Regions from separate parts of the Homo sapiens genome. Here regions 2 and 3 are each linked to region 1. The links are contacts of gene promoters, found by promoter capture Hi-C in blood cells and fetal thymus (Javierre and others, 2016). All regions are on one chromosome and are shown on one strand. The core of a region is centred on a gene start or on the middle of the fragment in contact, and the rest is flanking DNA. Distances in the headings are between cores, read along the strand shown.

Region 1 (4,182 bases), core at 1-2,500:
CGCCTGGCCGAGCCTGAGTCTCTCCGAATACCTCTGAGGCTTTTCTAGGTACAACATTCAAGGCTTCTAACCCTCCTGTGGGCCCGAAATGTCCTGGGAGTGTGGATGATACTAACCCGAGACAAAGTGTACTAGGGCTGTGGGTGATGCACACCCTGGCCTCTCAAGGGGTGTGGGAGGCAGAGAGGACGCTTGGGGACAGAGGCGGTGTCTGGAAATAGGGTGTGACAGGCAAGGGGAGAGCTGCTAGGACACTCTACCAAAGCAGGAGGGAGGGTGTGTCTGGGGCTGGCTGGGCTCCTAAGCGGGCCCTAGAAGCACTTTCACAGAGGAGGGGAGAGGTGAGTCACCAGCTTCTCCCACACCCAGCGCCCTGGTAGGAGGCGCTGCTTGTTGAATGAATGTTGGGCTTAAATAGTTTCCCGAGAAAGGCTAGTTGCAGGGAGAAGAGGCCTTGAGGGAACAGCCCTCAGCCAGGCCTCCTCCAACCAAATCCTTGCTAGGGGGAGGAGGGGCCCCGACAGTAGAGAAATGCTCCCTCTCCCCCAACTCCTTCGCTCCCAGCCCAGCCTAAGCTTTTTGGAGCATCACAGACTCGGTTTACAGAGACTCCCTAGGGCGGAGAGCTCTCTGCCCGCCTGGACAGCCCTGTCTGTCCATTGCTGGACAGCTCCACTTGGGCTGGATCGCCTTCCTCCCTCCCAAGGGACTGGCGCCCTCTCTGAGGTCGCGTCCAGCTCTCATAATGCGCAAGTTTCAGGGCCCCAAGGTACAGGAGGGAACTGGGAATGCAAGGAGGGGCCGCGGAGAGGCGTACAAGCAGATCCCAGTACGGGAGCAACACCTCCGAGTCCGCCTCCGCACGAACGCCGAGGACGAGGCGAGCCAAGGAACACGGACAAAAGAAGCCTGGACAGGCCGCGAGATGAGCAGAGGGATGAGCTGGCGAAGGCACAGACACGGCGAGCAGAGGGAGATGCGGGCCTAGCCGCACGGAGGAGCTCCAGGCGGCGAAATGGACCTAGAGGACCCCGGGGAAAAGCCCCAGGGCGACGGGGAAGCCTGGGTGTGGCCCGGCTGGCCCGGGGATACTCACATTCGCGGCCATGGTGGGACCCGGCTCGCTGCCGCCGCCTCGCGCTGTTCAGCTAGGAAGTGGGCTGACGACTGGAGCGTGGTGTCCAGCGGCCTCTTGCCAGCCCCAGCTTCGAAAATCCGCGTGGACTCCAGGGCCAAGCGGGACTTACTGCAGTTACCTCCCCCTGTGCCCAGTGTTTCTGCGCATGCGCGCGGCGAGACGTCCTGGAAACTATACGGTCCGGGACATTGCAGTACCTCATTGATGCGCCTGCGCACTGCAAAGCTTTCGGGGAAATGTAGTTTCTACTGCCTGGAGAGCTGTCGAGGAGCGCGCGACCTGCTGGGAAATGTAGTTTCCGGCTGAGGTTGGCCTGGCCGCGGTTGCGAGGGCGCCGAGGCAGGCGCGCGGCGGGCAGGCCTGGGAGGGGGCGGGTCCGCGCGGGCTTCGGAGGAGCCCGCCCTGCCAGAGGAGAGGGAGGTCACGGCGTAAAGGTGCAGCTGCCGCCACCGCCGCTTCTGCAAGGTCTCAGGGACGGGCTGCAGCCATGTCCTATTGCCGGCAGGAAGGTAGGGAGGGCGGGCTGCCACGGAGACCGGCCTACGAGGGCCTGCGGGAGACACGCGGGCCCCGGCGCCCCGCGACCACGCCGGGCGCGGGCCACCTGAGGCGCGGCCCAGGTGCCCACCCTGGGACACTCGGAGGCGGGCCGGCTGGGGGGTCGCTACTCCTGTTTTGCGGATGAGAAAACCGAAGCTCTGGGGGGAACGGGGCTGGTCCAAGGTCACAGTGAAGCCCGAACCCTGACCTCAGAGGGGCCTGTGCGTAGGAAGTCGTAAACTAGGTCCGGTTGGGGCACGGGAAGTGCCGAGCACGTTGCGTGTGGCTCGAAACTGGGAATGTATGGTGGTTAATTATCACTACCGCTCCTGCCATACCCCACGTGTTTACATTTTGCACGCGCCTTTAAAAGGCGCGTCCCGAAAAGTTGCCACTCGGGGTAGCGTGTGCTGTGCTGGAGTGCTAGGAGTTCCACTAACGGGAATGTTTTTGAGCCCCCTGCTACCTGTCAGGCACTGTTCAAGGAAACTTGCCTGGCTTGTCTCACAGATCTCGCTGCGACCTTTGTAAGTCAGGCTCTGTTGTTGGTCACATTTTACTGAAGAGTAAAGTTAGACACAGGAGACATGGCTAAAGCCACTCAGCCAGCAAATCGTGGAGCTGGGGTTTGAGCCTGGGCATTGTGACCCCAGAAGAGCCTTATCCAATCTAGTGCCCAGTGGATTGCAGGGAGAACCCTGCCTACCTCCCACCCCAAAGTTGAGCTCCGACCACCTACTGCTTCCTTGATGTTACTCTACCCAAGAGCTCAGAAGTACCCGAGCCACAGGTCGGAGGGCCTCCCCACACACTGCCACAAACTGGCTCCTTGGCCCTGAGCTCCCACCTAACCCCTCCAGGCCCTGGTATCCAGTGTTGTAAAATGAGATGTTGGGCTTCATTGATACGGCAAATACTCATGAAGCACCTTCTCTGCGCCAGAGAAGGGGGATGGATGGTTATAAAACTACAGAGAGAGTTGGAAGTCCCCCAGAAATTCTTTGGTGAATACTCCAGCTCCGTCAGTTAATTCAAGCAATCTGAAGCCCAGAGAAGGAGGTGGCCTACCTGTAGTTACACATCCAGTTAGGAGACTAGCTCAGCCTAAAATTCTGAGCCTTTTCCCTGGTGGCGCTGTCTGCTTCTAGAACCTCTCCTCCTCTGGGTCGTAAAGCCATAAGACTCACTCTTTAATGAGTACTATTATATTTCCGCTGATTACTACTTAATGTGTGCCATAAGCAAAAGTCCTCTGCCCTCACCACTCTTGTTTTTAATTTCGAGTCTTTCTCTAATTTACTTCATTTAGCAAATAATTTTTGAGCCTTTGGGTATAATGAGGCTGTGCTGATAAACAAGACCCTCCTCTTTGAGGATTTACAGGAGGCAGTTTTCTCTGGAAAGGGGAGGCTAGGTCCATCTGCCTCCAAAACATGGAGCCCTATCTTTTCCTGCTTCAAAGATCTCTCTTAGTTCGGAGAGGAGTGAGAATTGAAAGCACTCACTTATAGGCCTTCCTTAGTATTTATCTTGTGCATACCACTGTCCCCGTAAGAAGTCCCTAACTTCCCCCCCTCCGCCCCCCACTGATCCTTTATGCTTCCCATAGGATTTTTAAAAAATGATCCCAAACTGCTTACTGTATCAGAGCTTATGTGATCTGGCCCTGTCTGCCTTTCCAGCCTGGTCTCTTCCCACCCTTTTGCTGCCCAGCCTCTAGCCTCTTGGCTATTCCCTTGGTTTGGTATATCCTGCCTTCAGCTCTTCCGTGGCTGACTCCTCATCCTTTAACATTTAGCTCCAATATCACCTCCTGACCCTTTGTGTCTTTCACATCCTGAACTGTCTGAAATGACCTTTTTTATTTTTTGCCATCTTACTTCCTGCCTGTCTTCTCGCACTAAGCTGAGAGCATCAGATGGGCTGTGGAATCCCCAGCATCTAGCACAGGGCTTGGTGTACAATGGGTGCCCACATCTTTATTGAATCATGCATTTACCTGCCCTCTGTTCTGAGTGAATCACTTGCCTGTACAAGTTTATTTCAGGGGTCCACCTGCTACCCAGCCTTCAGGTTAAACTCGTTGGTTTGGCATTCAAGGGCTCTCAGCCTCGCACCTGGGCCTTGGGCTAGCCACACTTCTCCTGTGTCAGCACCATAGTGTTTCTTTCTTAGTTTCCTCTTTCTAATGCAGAGCCTGCCAACTCCTGTTCAGTCAACAATTATAGAGCACACGTGATGTGCCAGCCATTGGGCATATAGTGGTGAGCAAGGTGACACATTCTCTGCCCTCCTGGCATGGTGGAACAGATTGCCATTAAAACATCACCAGACAAATGCATGATTACAGACTGTCATAGGTGACATGAAGGAAAAGCCCAGCATGCTATGATCGTTTAGTGAAAGGCTCTATGGGGTCTGAGAAGGCTTCCTGAGGCTTCAGACATCCTTTTAAATGCCACTTTCTTAAGAAAACCTTTTGCAATCCTAAACACGTGTGAGCG
Region 2 (4,811 bases), core at 1,493-3,992, 1.6 Mb after region 1:
TTACTAAGCTATAATAAGGGCCTCCCCCAGGGCTCCGAAAACAGACTGGAAGACAGGGAGATGGTTGTGGGGGAGGGGAATCAGCAAAAAGGCACAGATTGAGATTCTGGATAGAGCGGCATGTCAAGGAATCAGAAGAGCTGACTGACAGCATAACTGTACGAGCAGTCATTTTTACCACTCCAGGCAATAAAAACATGGAGTGTCTTTGTCATTAGGTTTGAGACTCCTAGCATTTGATAAGCAACTCTTGGAGATACATAATATCTAACAGATTGGAAGCAAAACTGACATTATTCTGCTGTCATTCAAAATAAACATGTACATCACATCCCACAGTCAGGAAAACAAACCTAAAACTTTGTGACCTGAGATTAAAAAAAACAAAAAAACAAACAAAACCCACAAAAAACCGCACACGCTGCTTAGATCTGGTCCCCAAAATAAATCATACCTTGAACATTTCCTATAAATTATCAATGTCTAGAGACAAGGCTTTTGTTAATGAGATAATAAAGTGAGAAAAGCTTTTGGTAGATAAGCTGGTAGAAAAGTTGATGGTAGATAAACACACTAATGTAAACTTGGTACTCTTGGTCATATTGGTTTTTTCCCACTTAAAACACCTGTTATGTTTTTTATTTGGCAAGGCAGTCATCGGGAGCCCTGACTCCTTTACACCCTTTTGTGAGTAAACTTCTTTGCAGTTTTACATATCCTTGTATGAGTTTCCTTTCATGGGAACACATTAAAAGCTTTGATAAGTCCTGCAATAAATAAATTTTAATTTAGCATTTCAAAACTTATCTGGAGGCCCTACAGTCTATGAGGGCATGAACTTTGATTTCACACCTCTGTCACTTGGAAGCTAAATGACCTTAGGCAAGTCGCTTCAATGCTGAGGCTCAGTTTTACGATCTGTGGAAGAGCGCTGGTTGCTGGATTATACACTACAGTACCTAAGAGCCGCAGCACATTGTAAGTCCCCAACAAACATGACTAAACACTTAAACAGAAGTGATCCCTTCTCAACATTCCAACCCAATCTTCATTTATATGGAGCAACATCCTACAGAACACCCCTGTTTGGGAAACAGAATTAAAGCTTTCAAGTCAAGCTATCTCCAGGTATACAAGGAAAAAACCAAGATGATCCTGATTTAGGTCCTTGTGCCTCTACTAAGGTGTAAAATTTTAGGCAAATTTCAAGTCTTTCTGAGCATAAGATTCCTTATTTGTAAAATAAGATACTACAGAGTTGAGATTCAATTATAAAGCATTATTACATAAATGTGTACTGTTTTGTGGACACTTCTTAGATGAGGTACGGGAATAAATGGTAGAATTAAACCATAGAGCGAGGGGAGGAATACAGAGGTTTTTCTAGGAGGCTACAAGCTGCTTTACAGTGCACAATGACCTAGGAATACTTCCTCCAGCAGGAGAAACTTTATACAAATAAAAATACGTAAACACACACAAACCCGTCTTCACAAAACACCTTCTAGTACAAATAACCTAGTAAAAGTCTTTTTATAGACACTAGGTGCAAATTTCTGACAACAGCTTAACATAAGCCACCTGGGCCTTGGATAAATTGAACAGTAAATGTACACTAATGCTAACAGAAAACTTACTACACAGTCACGTCTCAACTATTCATACCAATGAAGAGAAGTAACAACATAGAAAATAAACTGTTTATTACACAAACTCTATAACTGTTTTTAAGCAATGTTTCCCATAAAAATTATTAAATGAAATTTGCATTTTCCAAGCATACAATTCAATTTGCGTTTTCCAAACATACAATTCAATAGGACTAGACTCCATTACCAGTAAGCCACAAGCTGACCAAGCAATGAGGGTGTTACACAACCACACTATTCTATTTCATAGGAGCAGTCGTAGTGTAGCTATCTGGCTATTTTCTACAATAAACCATCCATTACCGTCGCATTTCTCCTCGTAAATGGCTCTCTCAGTAAGATAAATGAGTGTCAACGTCTTTCGGTCTCAGTTTCCTGCACTGTAAAATGGTAATAATAACTACTAAGTTGTCTTACTGTGAAGTCTGATGATAATGAATATAAAGGACTTGGAAATATGCAGGGCGCTTCGCCGATATTCACAATATGCTACCTGTCGTTATTTTCCACACAACAACTTTTACTTGTTAACTCTCTGCAAGTTTAGATTGCATCTGGATTCTCCAAACTTTGAGGCCCTCATAATCGATTAACAAATTACTCCTATGTGGTATCCCCATTTGTAACCGTCCTCTCGGCGTCCCTTTACTCAACTTCAAATCTTTTCCAGTTAAAGCGTAAGCCCCAGAGCCTTCCCGACAGCGCCCCGGCATCCTGCACGGCCCTGGCTAGGACGTCCTTCCTCCCAGCCCACAGGGGCCACGCTTCAAACTCGGGGCGTAGCCCCCCGCGCTGGCCTCGCCCAGCGTCTCGGCCACGCATCCCCCGGATCCCCGGCTGTGGCGGCAGCGCTCGCTCTGCCTCGCAAAGCCCCGCCGCGAACAGCCGAGTAACTTTCCGAGTCCCGCTCTAGCCTCAGGTTCCCGGACCACAGCACTGGCGCGCACCGGCCCCCCTGCGGCCTGGGGGAGCGGCCCGAAGCTCCTGGCTCCAGCGCACTGACCTGCAAGTGATCTGCTTGGTGCTCATGGTGGCTGGGCTGAGGGACCGTCGTCGTGCCGCCGCCTCTCGCAGCCGCTGCCGCCTCGGCCTTGGCCCTGGCCCGGCCCATCCCGCGTAGCCGCGTCACGCCGGCGCACGCCGGCGCACGCCGCCCCTCCGGTGTGGCACCTTTGTAGCGCCGGCGGGTAACCTAGCCGTCGTCACAATTGGTTCCGCACCGGGGATCGGGCCGGCTGTCCCGGCATCCCTGCTCTCGGTGTCCCGCACTTCCAAGCCTCCGGGGCGGAGCCTGGCTGGCATCTTAGTCCTGCCAGTCTTATCCCGATGCCTACTGTTAGTGCCTGCGATTCTGCCCCGATCGCCAAGAGTATTCCTTAGGGATCTCCCGCCTCCTTCGAGGCACTTCACCACTCCTGGGGAAACTCCAGCCTCTCCTCTTAATCCCGGATGCCCCTATCCATTCATACTCGCACTCACTGGGCACCCTTCTCAGGCCCTGCCTCAACTGTTCCCGCCGGACCTCGCCTCCCACTTAAGGAAATTCCTTAGCTCTCTCCCAACTGCTCTTTCCCCAAATCTCTACTTCCACAAGTTTTAGTCTTCATTTTCTTTCCTGCCAGTCTTGTGCTGCTCGTCTTCCATTTCCTATGGTGGAAACCCCAAAAGTTATTTTTGACACTTCCCTCTAGCTCTCTATACCCTGCAGATTCTGCTCCCACACCTCTGTCCAATGCGTCCTCTTCTGCCCCCTTTCCACCGTCCCTTCTACCTAGCACCATGCGATACCTTTTTTTTTAATTATTATTATTTTATTTTTTATTTTTTTGAGACGGAGTTTCTCTCTTGTTGCCCAGGCTGGAGTGCAGTGGGGCGATCTCGGCTCACTGCAACCTCCGCCTCCCGGGTTCAAGCGATTCTCCTGCCTCTCAGCCTTCCACGTAGCTGGAATTACAGGCGTGCACGCCTGGCCAGCCATGCGATAGCCTTTTAACTGGTCTTCTGGCTTCCGTTCCTGGTAAAAATCTATTTTTAAAACATAAATCGGATCATGTCATTCACCTTTTAATCTTACAATGGTTTCTCATTGCTTAAAAACTCGAGATACATAACATGCACAATATAAGTGCACCAAACACATTCTATGAATTTTTGCACATGCATACACTCATGAAACTACCACCCAGATCAAAATAAAGAATTTTTTGTTTTGTTTTGAGGCAGGGTCTTGCTCTGTCGCCCAGGCTGGAGTGCAGTGGCGCCATCATAGTTCAAGCAGTCCTCTGCCTTAACCTCCCCAGCAGCTGGGAATACAGGTGCGCGACACCATGCTCGACTAAACTTCAAAATGCTGGAGTAAGGAGAGGTTGAGCCGGAAGGATCCTTTGAGCATAGTTCACTGCAGTCGAGGCTGCAGGGGGTGGGTGGGGGCTGGATATTATCGACACCCCAGAAGGGCTTCCTTATGGTCCTTCCCAGGCAATACTTTACAAAGGTCATTGCTTGGGTTCATCTCTATCACTATAAATTAGTTTAACTGTTCTTGACTTTCATATAAATAATAATTCAGTACCTACGCTTTTGTCTGCCTTCTTTTGACCAACATTTTATCTGTGAGATCTTTCCATGTTATGTATGTATAGCTGTATGTTCTTTTTTTACTTTGCTATAAAAATATTGAGTCTTCCAATGAATGAGCATGGTATATACTTCCAATTATTTAGAACTTTTGAAATTTTTCTCAGGAATTTGGAAGTATACTGGAAATTTTGTTTTCAGTGTCTTGAATATTGCATTTTAACTCATAACACATTTGATCCATGCAATTCATGCTCATAAAAATTACACGTCTTTTTTTTTTTTTTTTTTGAGACGGAGTCTTGCTCTGTCACCCAGGCTGGAGTGCAGTGGCATGCTCTTGGCTCACTGCAACCTCCACCTCCCGTGTTCAAGCGATTCTCCTGTCTCAGCCTCCGGAGTAGCTGGGATTATACAGGCGCACGCTGCCACGCCCAGCTGATTTTTTGTGTTTTAGTAGCGACGGGGTTTCACCCTGTTGCCCAGGCTGGTCTCGAACTTCTGAGCTCAGGCAATCCACCCGCCTCGGCCTCCCAAAGTGCTGGGATTACGGGCGAGAGCCACCGCGCCCAGCCCATGCCACTT
Region 3 (4,811 bases), core at 1,727-4,226, 1.3 Mb after region 1:
TGGACAGCCACAGTGGGCCACGGCCACCGGGCAGCTCAGCAGCCATCCCCTCTAATGGATCACTGTCACCCCCACAGTAGGCCACCCACGAACACACATCCTTAGCTCTCTATTACTGACAAGTGTCCCACCTCCCTGGCTTGGCATTCAAGGCCCCCGCATGCCTGTCCAATCTCATTTACCATCCCATCTTGTTCCAAGTACCCCATCAGGCTCTAAATCCATCGTCTCCATCGATGCCCTGCCTTCAGGCCTAGGGGCATCTCTGCCCTGGAAATCTGTCTGAATGACAGACAGGACCACAGGCATAGGAGGAAAGAAGCTATCAAGTCCACCCCCATTGAGACATCTTGCTCCCCTGCCAGTGCCTGCCATTCCACCATCAGAGCTTTCCTCTGCTGGGTTAAAGACATTATCTCCTGAAAGCCATTCATAAAAGGGTACACGGTGGCAGTGCAGAGGTGGGGGAGCCTGACAGACCTGGCTCTAAGGCCCAGCTATGCCAATTCCTAGTTGTGTTATCTCAGGCCACTCTCTTCTCAGTATGTGTCCTTGTCTGAAACACGTGGGTAATAATTTCTGTTTTTTTAGGGTTATTGTGAGGAACACAACTAGTAGATGCTCAATAAATGACAGCAATGACTACTATCATTACTGTGGTCTGTGCAGTCACAGCGGGTGGGACTGGAGCTTGAGAAAGAGCTGGCATCAGGACAGGGGCACCAAATGTGACCGCTGTCTTTGGTTGGGGGATCCCAGGAAGGCTGTGTTCACCTCCACCCTCCAACCCCAATGATGGGCTGTCCACCAACCTTGCTCACTGAATTCACTATCCTCTGTCTCCATCTGCTCCTCATCCTCATCACTGTCGTAGTTGTAGTTGGGGTCGTGTTTTATGTATTGGAGGCAGAGGCTGGTCACGTTGGGCACGTGAGGACCCATTTCCTTGGGGCACCTGTGGGGCAGGATGAGGAATGCTTTGCTGGATCCAGCCAGGACAGGAGTGGGGGACAGGGCCCAATGGGAGTCCTGAAATTTTACTGCTTTGGGCCAGCATCCCCACCAACTTCCCAAAGGGATCCCCAGGCAACCCCACCATACATACTTCCTCAAGAAGGCCTCAAAAGCCTGGAGGCAGGACTCCCGGAGCTCATCATCATCCAGGTTGCAGAAATCCTCCACCAGGGGCACCAGGCGGTCCAGGTGAGCCCCTGCAGGGCCAGGTGGATCACTGAACCCAAGCCAGACACTCTCCCGGAGTTCCCCCAGCCCACAGCACTCAGACTGTCTATGCACCTGCAGCCCTGACCACTGTAGATTCAACTCAGAGGTTTCATAGTCAAGCAAATGTGGGTTCTAGCCCTGACTCTGCCACCCAACTGCTATGGGACCTTGGGCAGGTCACAACATTTCTTTGACCTTAGTCAGCTAATCTTCACAACAAGGATAACAGTGCCTCCTGGGCAGAGATTTTGTGAAGATAAATTATATAATGATAAATAGCTTAGGCCAGGCGCGCCTGTAATCCCAGCACTATGGGAGGCCGAGGCGGGTGGATCATGAGGTCAGGAGATCGAGACTATCCTGGCTAACAAGGTGAAACCCCGTCTCTACTAAAAATACAAAAAATTAGCCGGGCGCGGTGGCGGGCGCCTGTAGTCCCAGCTACTCAGGAGGCTGAGGCAGGAGAATGGCGTGAACCCGGGAAGCGGAGCTTGCAGTGAGCCGAGATTGCGCCACTGCAGTCCGCAGTCTGGCCTGGGCGACAGAGCGAGACTCCGTCTCAAAAAAAAAAAAAAAAAAAAAAAAATTAGCCGGGCACGGTGGCACACACCTGTAGTCCCAGCTATTCAGGAGGCTGAGGCAGGAGAATTGCTTGAACCTGGGAGGTGGAGGTTGCAGTGAGACAAGATAGCGTCACCGTACTCCAGCCTGGGGGACAGAGCGAGATTCTATCTCCAAAAAAAAAAAAAAAAAAAGATAAACAGCTTAGGCCGGGCATGGTGGCTCACACCTGTAATCCCAGCACTTTGGGAGGCCAAGGCAGATGGATCATCTGAGGTCAGGAGTTCGAGACCAGCTTGGCCAACATGGTGAAACTCCATCTCTACTAAAAATACAAAAATTAGCTGCACGTGGCAGTGCGCCCCTGTAATCCCAGCTACTTGGGAGGCTGAGGCAGAATTGCTTGAACCTGGGAGGTGGAGGTTACAGTGAGCAGAGATCGTGCCACTACACTCCAGCCTGGGAAACAGAGCAAGACACGAGACTCAGTCTCAAAAAGAAAAAAAAAAAAGAAGTTAAAAAAGCTTAGTCCAAGGTTGGGTGCAGTGGCTCACCCCTGTAATCCCAGCACTTTGGGAGGCCGAGGCGGGCAGATCATGGGATCACAAGGTCAGGGGTTCAAGACCAACCTGGCCAACCAACATAGTTAAACCCCGTCTCTACTAAAAATACAAAAATTAGCTGGGTATGGTAGCGTGCGCCTGTAGTGCCAGCTACTCAGGAGGCTGAGACAGGAGAATCACTTGAATCCGGGAGGCGGAGGTTGCGGTGAGCCGAGACTGCACCATTGCACTCCAGCCTGGGCAACAGAGCGAGACTCCGTCTCAAAAAAATAAATAAAAAAGCTTAGTCCAGGTTCTACACGAGCAGGCACTCGATAAATAGCATCTGTTATCAAAACCATTATTCATGTCCTGGCCTAATTTCCTTCACTAGGTTTAAGTCCTTGGATAGGAGAAAGGGAGGCAGGTACTGCCCTAATAGACCAGGCAAGAGGGGTTCCTGCCTGGTCTCCAGGCTTTAGAGCACTCCACTCAAGCCCTTCTCCAGCCATACCCTTCCCTACAGCATAAGAAGAGACATGCTGACCTAGAGACCCCCAACACTCCTAGACTCCATTCTGTCTGGGTATCTGGGGACCCGAGTTTCCTGCCCAATGGATCCTGACCCCTTGTCCGAGCCTGCGCAGGCCTCTTTCCTAGGTCCATGCAACCAAGGATGGCTGAGGGCTGGCTGCTGTTTGGGAGAAATGGGACAGGGTGTGGCCATGTCAGCTGGGGTTCCCCCCCCCACCCCCCGCCGTGTGCCTGCAAGGCCCCTTGCAGTGAGAGAGCCAGGGGTTGGGAGGGGCTGACCATATGCCAGTTCTATCCAAACTGTCTTGGTATAGTCAGAACTCCAAGGTGTCTGAGGATACATTCAAACCTGATTGCAGCTTTCCATTTCTAAAAAACTAATCTATAGTGACAGAAAGCAGATCAGTGGCTTCCTGGACAAGGCAGAGAGCTGGACTGCAAACGGACACAAGGAAGCTTTTGGGGGTGATGGAAAGGTTTCACGGATATACACAAAGGTCAAAACACACTGAATTGCACACTTTAAATAGTGCGGTTTATTGTATGCACATTAAATTGTTTCTTAAAAATTCAAACTTGGCTCATGGGCTGTTACTAAGATATCTTTGTCAAACTGGGAGAAGAGAACATAGTCTAACAGTTTAGTGGCATGACTTAAAATTGTAATTACCAGCCAGCCTCCACGTCTCATAAGTGATTGAACCAACCCCCTTCTCTGAACCGTCTGCACTCAGCAGGGGCTCAGGCCTGGGGGTTTGTCGAGCTCAGGGCCCGCCCTGCGCCTCTCAAGCCCTATCCGGCCCCAACCTCTGCGTTTCAGGGGCTTCAGCCGCCCGCCCCAGGCCCCACCCACCACATCAGCCCAGGCCCCGCCCCATCCTCCCTACCAAGGCAGACGGCCCACCCTTAGGCCCTGGCTGCACTGCGGCCCAAGCTCCGCCCCTTTACCGAGTCATTGGCTCACCCTAAGCTCCGCCCACCATGCCAGCCCAGGCCCCGCCCCCTGCCCCCTTACCGAGGCGGTGGCCGGCCTGGCGGCCGACGCTGCCCAAACATTGGATCAGGGTGCGGATGGCAGTCGGGCTGGTGGGCACCCGCGGGCCGGGCAGCCGGTCCAGTAGGTGGTCAGCGAGCTCGACGAAGAGGTCGGTGCTGCAGGCGGCCGCCAGGTGGCCAAGCGCTCCGACCGCCCGCTTGCGCACCGCCAGGCGCGGGCTGCTCAGCTGTGGCAGCAGACAGTGCAGGAGGCTGGCGTGGAAGGCGCCCAGCGGGACACCCAGCCTGGGGAGCACGAGGGGGCATCAGGCCGATCGCACTCCGCGGGCAACCTGGGCCAGGCTCCGCCCCTCTCCCCATTCTCTCCCGGCCTCCTTCCCAGGATTATGGCAACTCAATGGCCCTTGCAAAAGAGGTGCCCTGCAACTGTGAGGAGGAATTATTTTAATTACTTTTGTTACATGAGAGAAAGCGGAGAGAGAAAGGGACTTCTCAGCAGTGCAAAGCCTGGCTCCCAGCCTAGGGAGAAAGACCTGATAGGGGAAAGCATAGAGGATCTAGTAAGGCTGTCCCTATTTCTTGGAAGTCTAGGCCTTGCCTCAATACCATCCCCTTCTGTCCATCCTCCTCGCTGAGACCAGAGCAGTATAAAGTCTACTTCTCACCTGGTCACTCCTCTGCTTAACTCCTTCCATGGCTCCCTAGTGCCTTTGGAGATGCTGAGCTCTGGGCTCAAGACAAGAGGCAACACCAGACAATGGTTTCTGCGCACACAGCACAGCTCCTGCCTGCCTCAGCAGCTTCTATCCACACCTTCAAACGAGGCCCGTGCATTTTCTGTCCTGTAAACATCTTGAGACCTTTTCTTTCTCACTTTACAGAAACACGCTGACCTTACCCTCCCTTATTTCTATGTCCTACCCAACCCCCTCTCCTAGGTTTCATTTGTTTGCC

What was found. The method cuts DNA at HindIII sites, captures the fragments that hold promoters and counts their contacts. A CHiCAGO score of 5 or more calls a contact.
Region 2: a contact is called between the fragment with the promoter of MKRN2 here and the fragment with the promoter of TMEM43 in region 1, in 2 of 17 cell types (total B cells and fetal thymus). The highest score is 8.1, in total B cells.
Region 3: a contact is called between a fragment that was not itself captured here and the fragment with the promoter of TMEM43 in region 1, in 1 of 17 cell types (fetal thymus). The highest score is 8.0, in fetal thymus.

What each region holds. Positions count from the first base shown.
Region 1 is chr3:14,122,120-14,126,301 of GRCh38, reverse strand. TMEM43 (transmembrane protein 43) reads right to left here and starts at 1,250. Exons shown (of 12, transcript NM_024334.3): 1 at 1,097-1,250. The coding sequence starts at 1,108. It overlaps CHCHD4 (coiled-coil-helix-coiled-coil-helix domain containing 4), which reads left to right and starts at 1,432. Exons shown (of 3, transcript NM_001098502.2): 1 at 1,432-1,647. The coding sequence starts at 1,626. RefSeq lists enhancers at 616-905, 338-1,072, 1,006-1,205, 1,073-1,807, 2,576-2,675 and 2 more and silencers at 1,396-1,955, 1,966-2,015. The HindIII fragment of the contact is 788 bases long and covers 578-1,365 here.
Region 2 is chr3:12,555,018-12,559,828 of GRCh38, reverse strand. MKRN2 (makorin ring finger protein 2) reads right to left here and starts at 2,742. Exons shown (of 8, transcript NM_014160.5): 1 at 2,653-2,742. The coding sequence starts at 2,678. It also overlaps a transcript of MKRN2OS not described here. RefSeq lists enhancers at 2,023-2,082, 1,992-2,515, 2,903-2,962, 3,013-3,122 and a silencer at 2,643-2,732. The HindIII fragment of the contact is 4,764 bases long and covers 1,108-4,811 here.
Region 3 is chr3:12,809,390-12,814,200 of GRCh38, reverse strand. CAND2 (cullin associated and neddylation dissociated 2 (putative)) reads right to left here. Exons shown (of 15, transcript NM_001162499.2): 5 at 3,877-4,142; 6 at 1,106-1,211; 7 at 813-955. Among named protein-coding and RNA genes, the nearest start is that of CAND2, 15 kb to the right of the region's middle. RefSeq lists silencers at 139-319, 3,665-4,114. The HindIII fragment of the contact is 687 bases long and covers 2,633-3,319 here.